Regions from separate parts of the Homo sapiens genome. Here region 1 is linked to region 2. Evidence: promoter capture Hi-C in 16 types of primary human blood cells and fetal thymus (Javierre and others, 2016). All regions are on one chromosome and are shown on one strand. Each heading gives the region's core, a stretch centred on a gene start or on the middle of the fragment in contact. The rest is flanking DNA. Distances are from core to core; before and after follow the strand shown.

Evidence for each region. Contacts are between HindIII fragments. The CHiCAGO score rates a contact against its expected background, and 5 or more counts as called.
Region 1: a contact is called between the fragment with the promoter of ARHGEF18-AS1 here and the fragment with the promoter of INSR in region 2, in 2 of 17 cell types (fetal thymus and monocytes). The highest score is 7.5, in fetal thymus.

Annotation. Positions count from the first base shown.
Region 1 is chr19:7,393,372-7,400,549 of GRCh38, forward strand. It overlaps ARHGEF18-AS1 (ARHGEF18 antisense RNA 1), which reads right to left and starts at 1,688. Exons shown (of 2, transcript NR_186326.1): 1 at 1,622-1,688. All of the region lies in intron 10 of ARHGEF18 (Rho/Rac guanine nucleotide exchange factor 18), which reads left to right. RefSeq lists silencers at 1,447-1,887, 1,596-2,165, 4,419-4,619, 6,279-6,479 and enhancers at 2,376-2,555, 4,631-5,136, 5,137-5,641. The HindIII fragment of the contact is 12,223 bases long and covers 1-2,428 here.
Region 2 is chr19:7,288,621-7,295,873 of GRCh38, forward strand. It overlaps INSR (insulin receptor), which reads right to left and starts at 5,794. Exons shown (of 22, transcript NM_000208.4): 1 at 5,172-5,794. The coding sequence starts at 5,271. RefSeq lists enhancers at 1-333, 4,236-4,994 and silencers at 4,976-5,035, 5,086-5,225, 5,366-5,645, 5,666-6,055, 6,196-6,375. The HindIII fragment of the contact is 11,558 bases long and covers 1-5,844 here.

The DNA of each region.
Region 1 (7,178 bases), core at 438-2,937, 100 kb after region 2:
AAATCTTTTTTTCTAAAATAGAGACTGGGTCATGCGAGGTTTCCCAGGCTGATCTCAAAGCTCCTGGACTCAAGTGATCCTCCCTCCTCAGACTCCCAAAGTGTTAGGATTACAGGCATGAGCCGTCTTGCCTGGCCATGGGGAGATCTTCTAGGCCTGGCTGACCAGCCAACCTTGGTGAGAGCTGTTCTGCTCGACTCCTGGTTACTGTTCAACTGCCTCCCCTGTGGCAGGACTTGGATTAGACAGGCAACCTCAAGACTGGGGTGTCTGATGGCAATTGAGAGGTTGCTGGTGCTGGGGGAAGCATCTGGCCTATCCACATCTGCCAAATAGCACCTGTGTGGAAGTGGATAGGGGAGGGTATGGTATGTGTTTCAGACTCTGAGCACCTGTTTGAGGGTATCTGACAGCATCTGTATTGGGGTTATCTAGTATGTGTTTGGGGGTATCTGCTGGACCTATGTGGAGTGTCTGACATATTTGGGGGTTACCTGGAAGCCTGTTTTGGGTATCTGATGGCACCTGCCTGGGTGCCTGTGTTTAGGGGATCTGATGGTATCTATGTTGGGGTGTCTGAGACCACTGGAGAGGTATATGATTCATTTTTCCCAGACCCACCTTTCTGAAGTCTATGCTGCCTCTTTTTTTGTTGTTGTTATTTTGAGACAGAGTCTTGCTCTGTTGTCCAGGCTGGAGTGCAGTGGCATGATTATAGCTCACTGCAGCCTGGACCTCCCAGGCTCAAGTCATCCTCCCACCTCAGCCTCTGGAGGCATGATCATAGCTCACCGCAGCCTGGACCTCCCAGGCTCAAGTCATCCTCCCACCTCAGCCTCTGGAGGAGTTGGGACCACAGGCAGGCGCCTCCATGCCCTGCTCATTTTAAAAAATGTTTTGTAGAGATGGGGTCTTGCTATGTTGCCCAGACTGGTGGTCCTGAACTCCTGGGATGAAGTGATCCCCCCACCACTCCCTGATGCTGCTTCTTTTTTCTCAGGTGACAGACCCTGCCCTCTCCATTTCTTGGACTCTCCCCGCTAGGACTCCCCACCACTGGGAGTGCCCCCCTTAGGTACTTCCAATCCTAACGAGCCCGTAGGAGCCCACTGACAACCCCTCCAGGCATCCGTTGATTCTTCCAAAACACCCCCAGCTCCACTGTCCTCCCTTGGGGTCCCCTTAACCCCGCTATCCTCCCTCGGGGTCCCCCAACTCCGCTGTCCTCCCTCGGGGTCCCCCCAACCCCGCTGTCCTCCCTTGGGGTCCCCCAACCCCGCTGTCCTCCCTCAGGGTCCCCCTAACTGTGCTGTACCCCCCTTGAGATTCTCCAAACCGCTGTCCTCCTCAGGACTCCCTCCCCAGCCGCGCTAATCACCCAGGCTTCCGTTAACCCCACAAAACGCCCACCTAACCCTGCTGCTCTCCCTCTGGATCCCCGCAACCCAGCTGTCCCCTCAGAGCCCCCGGCCCTACTGACAGCCAGGCTCGCATTGCTCTCCTTCAAAAAGCCCCCCAACCCCGCTGACCCGCCCCTCAAAAGTCGCCCTCACCCTCGCCGCGAGCACCCTCCCACTTCGGTGCCCGCGCCCCTCTCAAGGCCGAGCCGACGCCCCCTCACCACGGCTCGGGGAGCAGCAGCCCCAGGTCCCCGGGAGCGCCCCGCCCTCGAGGGCACGCCTCCTTCCGGGTCACGCCCTCTGCCCCGCCTCCGAGGCGGGATCGCGCATGCGCTGCTCTCCTCGCGCGGCTTCCCGCTTCCGGCTCCCAGCTGCTAGCTACTGTGGATCTGGGGGGGCCGGACGGAGGCATCGGAGGCGGCTGCGAGAGTGGCAGAGGAGCTGGCGGAGAGCGGCCTGCGGGCGATCGGGCCGAGGTGAGGACGGCGGCGGGGCGGTCCCGAGGAAAACGGGGCTCAGGAGGGGGCCCTCGGTCTCTTCAGGGGGTGGCCTGGGGCGCGGGACCCCCGGGGCTGCCTCGGGCCTCCCGCCGGCTCCTGGGGGACTTCTCCAGGCAGGCGAACGGGTGCTGGGGTGCAGGCTGCTCCTTCAATGCATGGAGGCTCTAGGCGGCGATTGCAGGGTGCAGAGGTGCAGACGATGCCCGCCCGCTCCGTCCGAGCCCCAGCCAGTCCTGGGGTGCTACGGCTTACTCTCCTCCAGGAGAGGAGAGGAGGGGTCACTTGGGCCCCAGCCTCTGCTCCTCGTTCAGGAGCGCCCGGGGCAGGACCAGGGATGGAATGGAACCCACCACAATACCCAGCACCGTCGTATTTCAGGCCTCCCGGGAGAACCCTCACACCCCGGAGCAGACAGCCCTCCCTGGCAGGGAGCGTTTGGGTGCAAAACCGTGAGAACTATCTGTGCCATGGGTTTTAGTTTCTTGTATAAGAACTCAGTTGGTGCTTTCATTGCGGACGGGAACGAGAAGCTTTCCCCTGGTCCTTACATGTTTCGTTTTGTTTTACGTTTTTAAATTTCAACTTTTATTTGAGATTGAGGGGGTACATGTACAGGTTTGTTACCTGGATATATTGCGTGATGCTGAGGTTTGGGGTGTGACTGATCTCGTCACCCAGGTACTGAGCATAGTACTCAATAGATAGTTTCAACCCTTGACCTCCTCCTTCCCTTCCCGCTCTAGTAGAGCCCAGTTTCTGTTGTCTTCTTGGTGTCCATGAGTACCCAAGGTTTAGCTCCACTTACAAGTGGGAAAGTGCAGTATTTGGTTTTCTTTTCCTGCGTTAATTCTACTAGCACTTGAGTGTTTTGCTGTGGCTATCTGCCCCTTATCTCTTGCTCTGTTGAGATTAAAGCCTGGACCACAGGATTAAAAAACATTCTTAAAGTTTTACCACGGAAGCGAAGCGGCCAACACACCTTTTCCCCTTTGCCTTGTTTTCGCGGAGATGAAGCTCCAGCCAGTAGCTTTGAAGGGCCCCATTCTCTTCCCATTGACCAGAGAGAGAGTTCAGGACAGTATAGACAGCCCAGTGGCCAAGGGATGAGTTTTGCAGGTGTCTGAGTGAATGATTAATCCTCCAGCTGTAAGAGGTGTCAGGAGAGGCTGGGCGCGGTGGCTCAAGCCTGTAATCCCAGCACTTTGGGAGGCCAAGGTGGGTGGATCACGAGGTCAGGAGATCGAGACCATCCTGGCCAACATGGTGAAACCCCATCTCTACTAAAATACAAAAATTAGCCGGGCATGGTAGCGGGCGCCTGTAGTTCCAGCTACTCTGGAGGCTGAGGCAGGGGAATCACTTGAACTCGGGAGGCAGAAGTTGCAGTGAGCCGCGATCGGGCCACTGCACTCCAGCCTGGCGACAGAGCAAGACTGTCTAAAAAAAAAAAAAAAGAAGTGTCAGGAGCACAGGCTTGAGGTCAGATCCGAGCTGGGTTCTGGTCCCAGTTCCACCACCTGTTAGCCGTGTAACTTCACTAAGTTTCCGTCTTCCCATCTTTAAAATGGGAATAAGGGTTGGTTGGGGTTTCTATGAAGTAATCTGTGTAAGGTGCATCACAGAAGTGTCTGGCATATGGCAAACTTTCCATCAGTGTTATACACCCTTTGCATATGCGAATGCTCCCAGGCTTGGATGTTTAGGTTAACATTCCAAATTATAAAGAGTTTGGAAAATTTGAGCATCTCGGATGTTGTTTGGACCGAGTCAGGGTTTACGCTTTATCAGTAGTTTCCTATTTCTGTAGGTCAGCAAGCCTTTTTGCGAAAAAAAAAAAAAAAAAAAAATGAAGATGTGTTTGTTCTAGAGCAAAAAAGAGCAAACAGCTGGCAGGCATAATACATTTCATTTTTGTAAACGTTACTTTGTTTTGGTTTTGTATAGCTTATTTAGTTTTTGTTTTCTTCTGAAATTAGTATGTGATTTTACTTAAAATTTTTTTTTTCTTTTTAGAGACAGGGTCTCACTCTGTTGCCCAGACTGGAGTGCAATAGCACAATCATAGCTCACTACAGCCTCGAACTCCTGGGCTCAAATAATCCTCCTGCCACAAACTCCCAAGTAGCTGGGACTACAGACACGCGCTTCCATGTCTGGCTAATTTTTAAAAATTTTTTGGGCCGGGTGCGGTGGCTCACACCTGTAATCCCAGCACTTTGGGAGGCCCGGGGGGGGGCAGATCACGAGGTCAGGAGATTGAGACCATCCTGGCTAACACGGTGAAACCCCGTCTCTACTAAAAATACAAAAAATTAGCTGGGCATGATGGCGTGTGCCTGTAGTCCCAGCTAGTCAGGAGGCTGAGGCAGGAGAATGGCGTGAACCCGGGAGGTAGAGGTTGCAGTGAGCCGAGATCGTGCCACTGCACTCCAGCCTGGGCAACAGAACGAGATTCCATCTCAAAAAAAAAAAAAAATTTTTTTTGTGGGGTCTCGCTATGTTGCCCAGGCTGGTCTTGAAGTCCTGGACTCAAGCGATCCTCCCACCTCGGCCTCCCAAAGTGCTAGGATTACAGGCGTGAGCTGCCACAGCCTGTGGTTTTTGTTTTTGTTTTTTTAACTGACAGATAACAGTGTATGTATTTATCATGTGCAACGTGACATATTCTTGAAAAATGCAAGAGGAGCGGATGTTAAGCACTTTCACCACAAAAATGAGAGCTATGCGAAGTGCTGCATTTGTTACTAAGCTAGATTTAATCATGCCACTGTGTATATATACTTCAAAGTGTGTTTCCTTTTTCTTTTTCCTTTTGTTTTTTGAGACGGTCTCGCTCTGGCGCCCAGGCTGGAGTGCAGTGGTGTGATCTTGGCTCACTACAACCTCCGCCTCCCAAGTTTAAGCAATTTCGCCTCAGCCTCCCGAGTAGCTGGGATTACAGGTGTGTGCCACCACGCCCAGCTAATTTTTTGTATTTTTAGTAGAGGCGGGGTTTCGCCATGTTGGCCAGGCTGATGTCGAACTCCTGACCTCAGGTAATATCCCCTCCTTGGCCTCCAAGAGAGCTGAGATTACATGCATGAGCCACCACGCCCGGTCATATTTCATTTTTAAATGGCATACCTTAGAGAAGCAGAAAAGAGACCGGGCACCATGGCTCACACCTGTAATCCCAACACCTTGGGAGGTCGAGGTGGGCAGAGAGGCCAGGAGTTCGAGACCAGCCTGGCCAACAGGGTGAAACCCCATCTCTACTAAGAAATACAAAAATTAGCTGGGCGTGGTGGCCTGCGCCTGTAATCCCAGCTACTTGGGAGGCTGAGGCAGGAGAATCGCTTGAACCCGCAAGGCAGAGGTTGCAGTGAGCCGAGATCACGCCATTGCACTCCAGCCTGGGCAACAGAGCTAGACTCTGTCTCAAAAAAAAAAAAAAAAATAAAGAAAGAAAGAAAAGAGATTCTTTGGTTCCTTCTCTCTTTCTTGCTTAAATCGACTTGAGAATGTCCCCACTTTGAAAGGGGAAGTAGCACATACATTGTTTCTGGCATAGCTGTAGTATAATTTTCATTCTTGTCACACAGTAGCAATTACGGCTTCAAGGCCATTGCCCTTTGTGGGCCAGGGCCGTGGTGACTGGCTGTGCCTCCCTGGGTGTTTACCTAGCACATGTTTAACATAGCTCAGATCGTGTGTCAAGATCTCCCTCATTCTCACTCATCCTGGGTCATGTTTCTATCTCTTCAAACTCTATGACTTACAAAACATTTTTGCTGCCACCTCTCTGAAAATCATTTAAAAGCCCAGAGACCTTATATGAAGTCCAGCCAATCGCTGTTTCTTTGTTATTTGTTAGGTAAACTTTACTTTCCCCCTGAGACGGTCAAGAACTACTGTGTTTGAAAACCCTCTCTCTAGGTGCAAAACAGCACCAGTGGAAGCCTCGCAGCTGCCTGGAGGAATTTTTTGAGGGGAGGATTGTGGCTGACTGGGTGAGGGAGGGAAACTGGGTAAAATAATGTCCTCCGAGAGCATTCGGTGACAGCAGTTGTTCTCATTTTTGTGATGCAAATTAAGTTGTATGTGAACTAAATTAAATTTGCTTGCTTCTCTGCTTTTGTCAGAGATAGATTCATAGTTTCAACTGAGTATAGAGTTCTAGTCTGATTATGTTCAATATGTTCAAAGCAGTAGATACACTAATGTTTTTTTTTCCTTCTTTTTTTTTTTTGAGACAGAGTTTTGCTCTGTGCCCCAGCCTGGAGTGCAGTGGCGCGATCTTGGCCCACTGCAAGCTCCACCTCCGGGTTCACGCCATTCTCCTGCCTCAGCCTACCGAGTAGCTGGGACTACAGGTGCCTGCCACCACGCCTGGCTAATTTTTTGTATTTTTAGTAGAGATTGGGTTTCACCGTGTTAGCCAGGATGGTCTCGATTTCCTGACCTCGTGATCCGCCCACTTCGCCTCCCAAAGTGCTGGGATTACAGGCGTGAGCCACCACGCCTTTTTTTTTTTTTTTTGAGACAGAGTTTCGCTCTTATCACCTGGGCTGGAGAGCAGTGGTACGATCACAGCTCACTACAGCCTCGACCTCCTAGGCTCAAGCAATCCTCCCACTTCAGCCTCCCAAGGAGCTAGGACTATAGGTGCGTACCACCGCGCCCAATTAATTTTTGTATTTTTGTGTGTGTGTTAGAGATAGGGTTGCCCAGGCTGGTCTCAAACTCATGGGCTCAAGCGATCCTCCTACCTTTGTCTCCCAAAGTGTTGGTATTATAGATGTGAGTCACCATGCACGGCTTCATACACTGATTTATGGTCATATATTGAAAAAATATATATTCTAAAGGTTTCACTAACAGTACACGTTTAACACATTGTGGATGGTGGATGGTTACATTTTTAATTCACGTCACTTTTTTAATACAGCAGCTTTATTGAAATATAATTAGCACAGCATAAAATTCACCTTTTAAAAGTGTACCATTTGGTGTGTTTTAGGATATTCACAGAGTTAAGCAACAGTCATCAGTATTTAATTCCAGGACATCTTATTATTTTTTTAAAAAAACAGGGTCTTGCTGTGTTGTCCAGGCTAAATGCAAACTCCTGGGTTAAAGTGTTCCTCCTGCCTTAGCCTCCTGAGTAGCTGGGACTACAAGCATCAGCCACCATACCTGGCTCAGTTCATCATTCTTATGGGTGGGTTTCAGGAGGAGAGAAAGTGAAAAGAGGGAGTTGGTCTGGAGAAAGTCTCAGCTCAAAAATGAAAACAAAAAT
Region 2 (7,253 bases), core at 4,544-7,043:
AGAGCAAAATCCTGTCTCTAAAAAGAAATAAAAATTGGAAAAAAAAAAAAAAAAAAAAAGGGCCGGACACGGTGGCTCATGCCCGTAATCCCAGCACTCTGGGAGGCTGAGGTAGGTGGATCTCTTGAGGTCAGGAGTTTGGGACCAGCCTGGCCAATGGGGTGAAACTCTGTCTCTACTAAAAGTACAAAAACTAGCCAGGCGGGGTGGCACATGCCTGTAATTCCAGCTACTGGAGAGGCTGAGGCAGGACCATTGCTTGAACCCAGGAGACGGAGGTTGTAGTGAGCCAAGATCATGCCATTGCACACCAGCCCGGGTGAAGAAGTGAAAAAAAAAAAAAAAAAAAAGTGAGCTGAGAGAAGATTAAAGGAAACACTGACCCTCTGGGAAGAGAGAGCCAACATCTTAGCCCAGGTAGAAGGAGAAGAGAACAGTAAAACAGAAGAACTTAGGCACAGGTGAGACGGGAGACACAGCCTTCCAGGAGGGGGGACTGGCAATGTCAAACCCAGAGGGGTCAAGTGAGGTGAGGCTGCAGGAGACGCAACTGGGAGATGAGAGATTAACTTCGAGAGCCATCGGTAAAGCAGCGGAGATGCAAGCCAGATGCTGGGGGCAGAACAGTGAGAAAAGAGTGAGATGGAAAGGGCAGGGAGGACTGGCCTGGGGAAGCTGGACAGGGTGGAGGCTGGAGGTCAGTGGTAGGTAATGGGGATTGGGGGGTACTGGGTGTTTAGAGGCTGAAAAAGCACGTGGGTAAATGAAGATTCTTTTTTCTTTTCTTTTTTTTTTTTTTTTTTGAGACAGAGTCTCTCTCTGTTGCCCAGGCTAGAATGCAATGGTGTGATCTCGGCTCACTGCAAGCTCTGCCTCCCAGGTTCAAGCGATTCTCCTGCCTCAGCCTCCCAAGTAGCTAGGATTACAAGGACCCGCCACCACACCTGGCTAATTTTTGCATTTTTAGTAGAGATGGGGTTTCACCATGTTGGCCAGGGTGGTCTCAAACTCCTGACCTCAGGGGATCCGCCCACCTCAGCCTCCCAAGGTGTTGGGATTACAGGCGTGAGCCACTGCACCCGGCCGAGGATTATTGAACAAAGAGAGGAGAAAGAGCAAGAGCCCAGATGGGTAAATGTCTCAGACAGGGAAAAGGTTAACTCCTGCAGAGACGTGCCTGGCAATGTCTGGAGACATTAGTGGTTGTCATGCCTGGGGGGAAGGGGATCCTCCCAGGACCACATGGGTGGAGACCATGGTTCCAGCTCAACACTCTACATACAGGACAGCCCCCACCACCAGGAATGATCCAGCCCCAAATGTCAGCAGTGCCAAGATTGAGAGTTCTGCTTAAACCAAAGAGGAATGGAAGTCAAGGGTAGAGTGGGGTGAGGTGGGGAGCCCTGGGGACTCAGCCCACACCCTGTGGTCTCTATGCATGAATGGGGAAGGGCAAGAAGCAGGTCTCCAGGAGAGAAGCAAAGAATAAGAATAACTGCAGAGGCCAGACACCGTGGCTCATGCCTGTGATCCCAGCACTTCGGGAGGCCAAGGCAGGCAGATCGCTTGAGGCCAGGAGTTTGAGACCAGCCTGGACAAAATAGCAAGACTTCAGCTCTACACATTAAAGTAAAAATTAGCCAGGCAGGGTGGCGTGTGCCTGTGGTCCCAGCTACTACGGAGGCTAAAATAGGAGGATGGCTTGCGTCCAGGAGGTCGAGGCTGCAGTGAGCCATCATTGCCCAACTGCACTCCAGCCTAAGCAACAGAGCAAGACCTCATCTCAAAAAATAATAGATAGCTAGAGAGATAGATACAAAAATCACACTGATTTTCCTCCACCCTTCATCCCAATCAAAATGCCATATTGGGCCCGGAGTGATGGCTCACACCTATAATCCCAGGTCTTTGGAAGGCCGAGGCAGGCAGATCACTTGAGGTCAGAAGTTTGAGACCAGCCTAACCAATATGGCGAAATCCCATCTCTACTAAAAATACAAAAATTAGCCAAGGGTGGTGATACACGACTGTAATCCCAGCTACTCAGGAGGCTGAGGCAGGAGATGCACTTGAACCTGAAAGGCGGAGGTCGCAAAGATCGTGTCACTGCACTCCAGCCCGGGTGACAGAGTGACACCCTGTCTCAAAAAAAAAAAAGAAAAAAAAAAAGGCCAGGTACGGTGGCTCACTCCTGTAATCCCAACACTTTGGGAGGCCGAGGCGGGTGGATCACAAGATCAGGAGGTCGAGACCATCCTGGCTAACACAGCAAAGCCCTGTCTCTACTAAAAATACAAAAAATAAGCCGGTGTTGTGGAACACGCCTGTAATCCCAGCTACTGGGGAGGCTGAGGCAGGAGAATCCCTTGAACCTGGGAGGTGGAGGTTGCAGTGAGCTGAGATCGTGCCACTGCACTCCAGCCTGGGTGACAGAGCAAGACTCCGTCTCAAAAAAAAAAAAGCCATATTGGTTGACATTAGAGATTAATGATCTGAAAAGTTCTTTGCCCCTCCCCAAGCCTTCAAGAGGCATCACAGCCCATTTATTTGACAGGATTTTGTTCACCATCACCCCAATCGTGGGGGGTACGGAGGCTCGGACTCAAAAGAACAAAGATTTGTTAAGAAACCATTGCTCTGCAGCCACACTAGCTAGATTGCAATCCCAGCCCTGCTGCCTGCTGGCCTCAAGCGAAGTTTTCTCACTTGTGAAAAGGGAAGATTAAACCGCACCTCGTGGGGTTTTGCCGTGAGGATTAACTGAGATTATATATGCAAAGCGCATAGAACAGCACCTGCTGAGAGCTTGCTCTTCTAATTCTTAGGAAGGTATTATGCAGAGAATAAGGAACTCCTTAAGATGATAAAGGAGCCCAGTACACCCAGGAACTCCACCACTTGTGCCCCACTGCAGAACAAATATTTACTGAACACCTACTATGTGCCAGGCATCGTTCTGGGCTCTAGAAATGCAACGGTGAACAACAACAAACCATAAACCCCTGCCCATATGGAAGCCATAAATGTGCAAAGAAATGGTAAATCCATTTACTGACCCTGAAAGCCCAGGCACAGATCCACAATTAATTACCAAAGCTACAAGGAACAGAAGAACAGGGAACCACACACACGCACACATAGAATCTGGCATAGTTCGAAACCACTCATCTTGGATTTTCTTTTTATTTATTTATTTATTTTTGAGACAGAGTCTCGCTCTGTCGCCCAGTGGCACGATCTTGGCTCACTGCAAGCTCCGCCTCCCGGGTTTACGCCATTCTCCTGCCTCAGCCTCCGGAATAGCTGGGACTACAGGCGCCCGCCACCACGCCCGGCTAATTTTTTCTATTTTTCAGTAGAGACAGGGTTTTACCGTGTTAGCCAGGATGGTCGTGATCTCCTGAACTGGTGATCCACCCGCCTCGGCCTCCCAAAGTGCTGGGATTACAAGCGTGAGCCACCACGCCCCGCCTTTTTTTTTATTTTTTTGAGACAAAGTCTCGCTCTTTGGCCAGGCTGGAGTGCAGTGGTGCCATCTGAGCTCACAGCAACCTCCTCCTCCCGGGTTCAAGCAATTGTCCCGCCTCAGCCTCCCAAGTAGCTGGGACTACAGGCGAACGCCACCAAACCCAGGTAATTTTTGTATTTTGAGCAGAGAAGGGAGTTTCACCATGTTGGCCAGGATGGTCTCCATCTCCTGACCTCGTGATCCGCCCGCCTCAGCCTCCCAAAATGCTGAGATTACAGGCTTGAGCCACCGCAGCTGGCCAGATTTTCTTAACAAGAACTCCAACTAACCGCCACCCTTCATTGAGCACCTACTGTCTCCCAGGCACCTGGGGGCGGGGCTGGGGGGGGGTGGGCCCGGGGCTTTTAGACATTATGTGATTGACAGAGTCGACTCAGCAAACCCGGTTGGTCCACTCTAGCACCTGATTTTACATGCACCCGTTTCCCCATCAATACATTTAAGAGCTTCAATTCCTTCCCTCCCTGACCCCTTCCTCATCACGACTGATTTCCTTTTATGGAGAAATCTGAAACAGTAACCCAACAGATATTTTTAAAGCAGGGCCTCAGACCCCACAGTGGGAAACCCAGGCTATATTCCTTAAATGATTGCGCCATCTTCATCTTACAACCCCAAAGGTGCCTATTGTCAAGCCCAAGGAAGATGCTGCCCACACGTGGGAGAGGGGCCCATGGGGTCAGGGGGAACGAAAGGCTCACTCAAGGTCAAAGGCTCCTTCATGAAGCGCAGGGCTGAGGGGAGAGGAGGGGTCAAGGAGACAGCAGACAAGGGACAGTAGTCCAGATTCTTGGGCAGAACGGGACACACAGAGGCTCAAGTCCTGGCTCTGGCACTGACTTTAGGGCAAGGGAGTTATGCGTCCTACATGAGCCTCAGTTTACTCCTCTGTGAAATGGGTGCATAACTGTATCTGCCTCCGGGGGCCACTGTGACAGTCCAGAGAGATAAGATAGACTAGGCTGTGGCGTGCGGTGATACCAATTACAATAAATAGGGTAAAAAACCGCCACTACTTCTGCTACAATTGCTGCTGTTGCTAAGGCTTTAGAATTTGCCTCCGGACATCTGGAAACAGAACCCAAAAGGGTAAACATGGACCTAGAGTCCGGGGTGGCCACGGGCCTAGATCCAAGGTAGTTGGGTAGAGGGGGGCTCTGCAGTCCCTGACCCCAGGCAGCGTCACCCACCGGTGAGGCACTCAGGGCGCTTGGCTCTACCTACACCATATGCGCTCGGGGGACTTGGCTGTTCGGGGCTGTCCAGACCCAGTGACCCCACTTCCCGGCCGCGACCCAAAGATGACGCGTGTCGTGTCTCCGGAGCGACTTGGGCTCGGAGGGGCCGGGGCACGGGTCGGAGGCGCGCTCCAGAGAGGAGCCCGCGGCGGGGCGGGCACCGGGGCAAGGTTCCTCGGGCTCAGGTCGGGCACGCAGGGCGCGGAGGCGCGAGCCCGGGCGGGCAAAGGCCAAGGTCAGAGGCTTCCCGCTCCCCCTACGCGATGCAGGAGCTACCGTCCTGGCCACCGCCCCCCGCCCCTGGGGAGGGTTCTCAGTCCACAAGCGGGGGCTCGATTTTGGCTTGGGTGGGGTCCTCTCCCCATCGCGGCGCTCCCCGCCCACGCCCGCGCCCCCAGACTCACCCTCTCCGGGGTACAGGTGGCCCGCGGCGCCCAGTAGCAGCGCGGCCACCGCCACCAGCAGCGGCGCGGCCGCCGCCCCCCGCCGGCCCCCGGTGGCCATGGCTGCGGGAGCGCGGGGTCTCCTCGGATCAGAGCGCGCGGCGCTGGCCCGCGGGGGTCATGCTCCGAGGCGGCCACCCAAGAGGCGCTGGGGGCCGCGCGTCCTTCTCTTCCACGCCCGCGACCCGCGGGCCGCAGCCCCCCTGCCGGGGAGGGCCCAGAGGCAGCCCCGGGAAGGGCGCGCGCGGCTTCGCCAGCTACAAATACTGAGCGGAGGCCCTTGCGGTGGTGGCCCCGACCCCCCGGCCGCTGCGGCCCGGGCCCCGTCCCAGGATCTCGGGGCCCGGAGCTCCGCGCTGCGCCCGGGACTGTCTCTCGGCTCTCGGCCCCGCGCGCTCTGGGTCGCGATCTGCGGGCTCCGGGACAGAGGGACGCGCGGACCGACGGACTAGCTGACTGGCGGGCGGGCACCTGGGCTGGCGGGTGGCGGGCGGGCGGCGGGAGAGAGGGCTGCTCGGGCCCGTAAACAACGCGGCCCGTCAGCTGGGCCCCGTGCGGGCCGCGGGAAAAGGCGGCGCGGATCTGGCCTAGGAAGGGACTCTGCGCCCGGGAGAGGCCCAGGAGAGGGAGGGAAAGCTTGCAGGGGAGGGAGGTGCCGCCCGGCCCCGCCCCGCCCCGCCCGCCTCCCCGCCTCCCTGTGCCGGGCCCCGCGCGGGAGGCCCTGGGCGCGCCGGGACCGAGGGCGCGCCCCAGATCCGCGCGCCCTACAGCCCCGAGTCTCCTCCAGTTTCAGACCCCCGGAGGCGCCCCACAGGCCCGACGCAGCGGCACAGATCCTTTCTCTACCATTTTGCTATTTTGTTCATAGTGGGCTTTGGAGGATTCCTGTTGATTTTTTAAAAAATACTGCATTAAAATGTTTATTTTGGTGACTCGAGGTGGTTTTGGTTTCTTTCTTTTTTTTTTTTTTTCACTCCCTTAAATTTTGCACCCCAGGCGAGTAGTGTCTCACTCGCCTTTCCTCAGTCCGGGCCTGGCCAGCGACACTCGTCCCAGAGCGCGTGGGCGCCCCCAGATGTCCCGCCCGCGAGTGCGCCCCGGCCCAGGGGCGAGACCCAAGCCAGGCCCCTGGGGACAGCCACGTGCCCGCGTGCCCAGTGCGCTCCCTGTGTTCAAGTTGGAGAAATGACACCTGGAAAAATGTGCAGACGCTTCTGAAAGGGCAAAGACGACGCCAAAGAAGACGCCGGAGACCTCGAATAGGGCGCAGGTGGACATCTCTGATTTTCAGCAGACCAGCCTGTATGTGTCTGAAGTCTAGCAACGACATTCACCAACAAGGCGGGACAGCGGTTCCACCTACCTTACTGCAGGAGAGGAAGGGGCTTTCAGTATAGGAAAGCCAGAACTCAATGGGAGGAGGGTTCCTCCACCCCTCACTCCTGTGTGGTCTTGGACCAGGGACTTTTCTGTCTCTGGGCCAGTTTCACTTGTGTAATGGGTTTAATAATACCTGCATGCCAGTTCTGGGGAGGTACCCGGGAAAGAAAACTTAAGAAAGCGCCCAGCACAACCCTAGACCCAAGGCATTCATTCTTCTTTCATTCAATAAACAGTTTGCTAGGAGCTGGACCCACTGTTCATGCAACAGGCCAAACCTATTCCTGCCTCTGGGCCTTTGCCCCAGCATTTCCCTTGCCCGTAACACTCCAGGATGGCTTCATCTCTGAAGTGCCATCCCTAACCATATTTTTGCAAATCCTCCCCCCAGTTCCGTTTCCTTCTCTCTCTCTCTCTCTCTGTTTTTTTTTTTTTTTTTTTTTTTTTTTTTTTTTTTTTTTTTTTAGATGGAGTTTTTCTCTGTTGCCCAGGCTGGAGTGCAATGGCCAGATCTCAGTTCACTGCAACATCACCTGCCTGGGTTCAAGTGATTCTCCTGCCTCAACCTCCCAAGTAACTTGGATTACAGGCATGCGCCAGCACACCCAGCTAATTTTCTGTATTTTTAGTAGAGACAGGATTTCACCATGTTGGCCTGGCCGG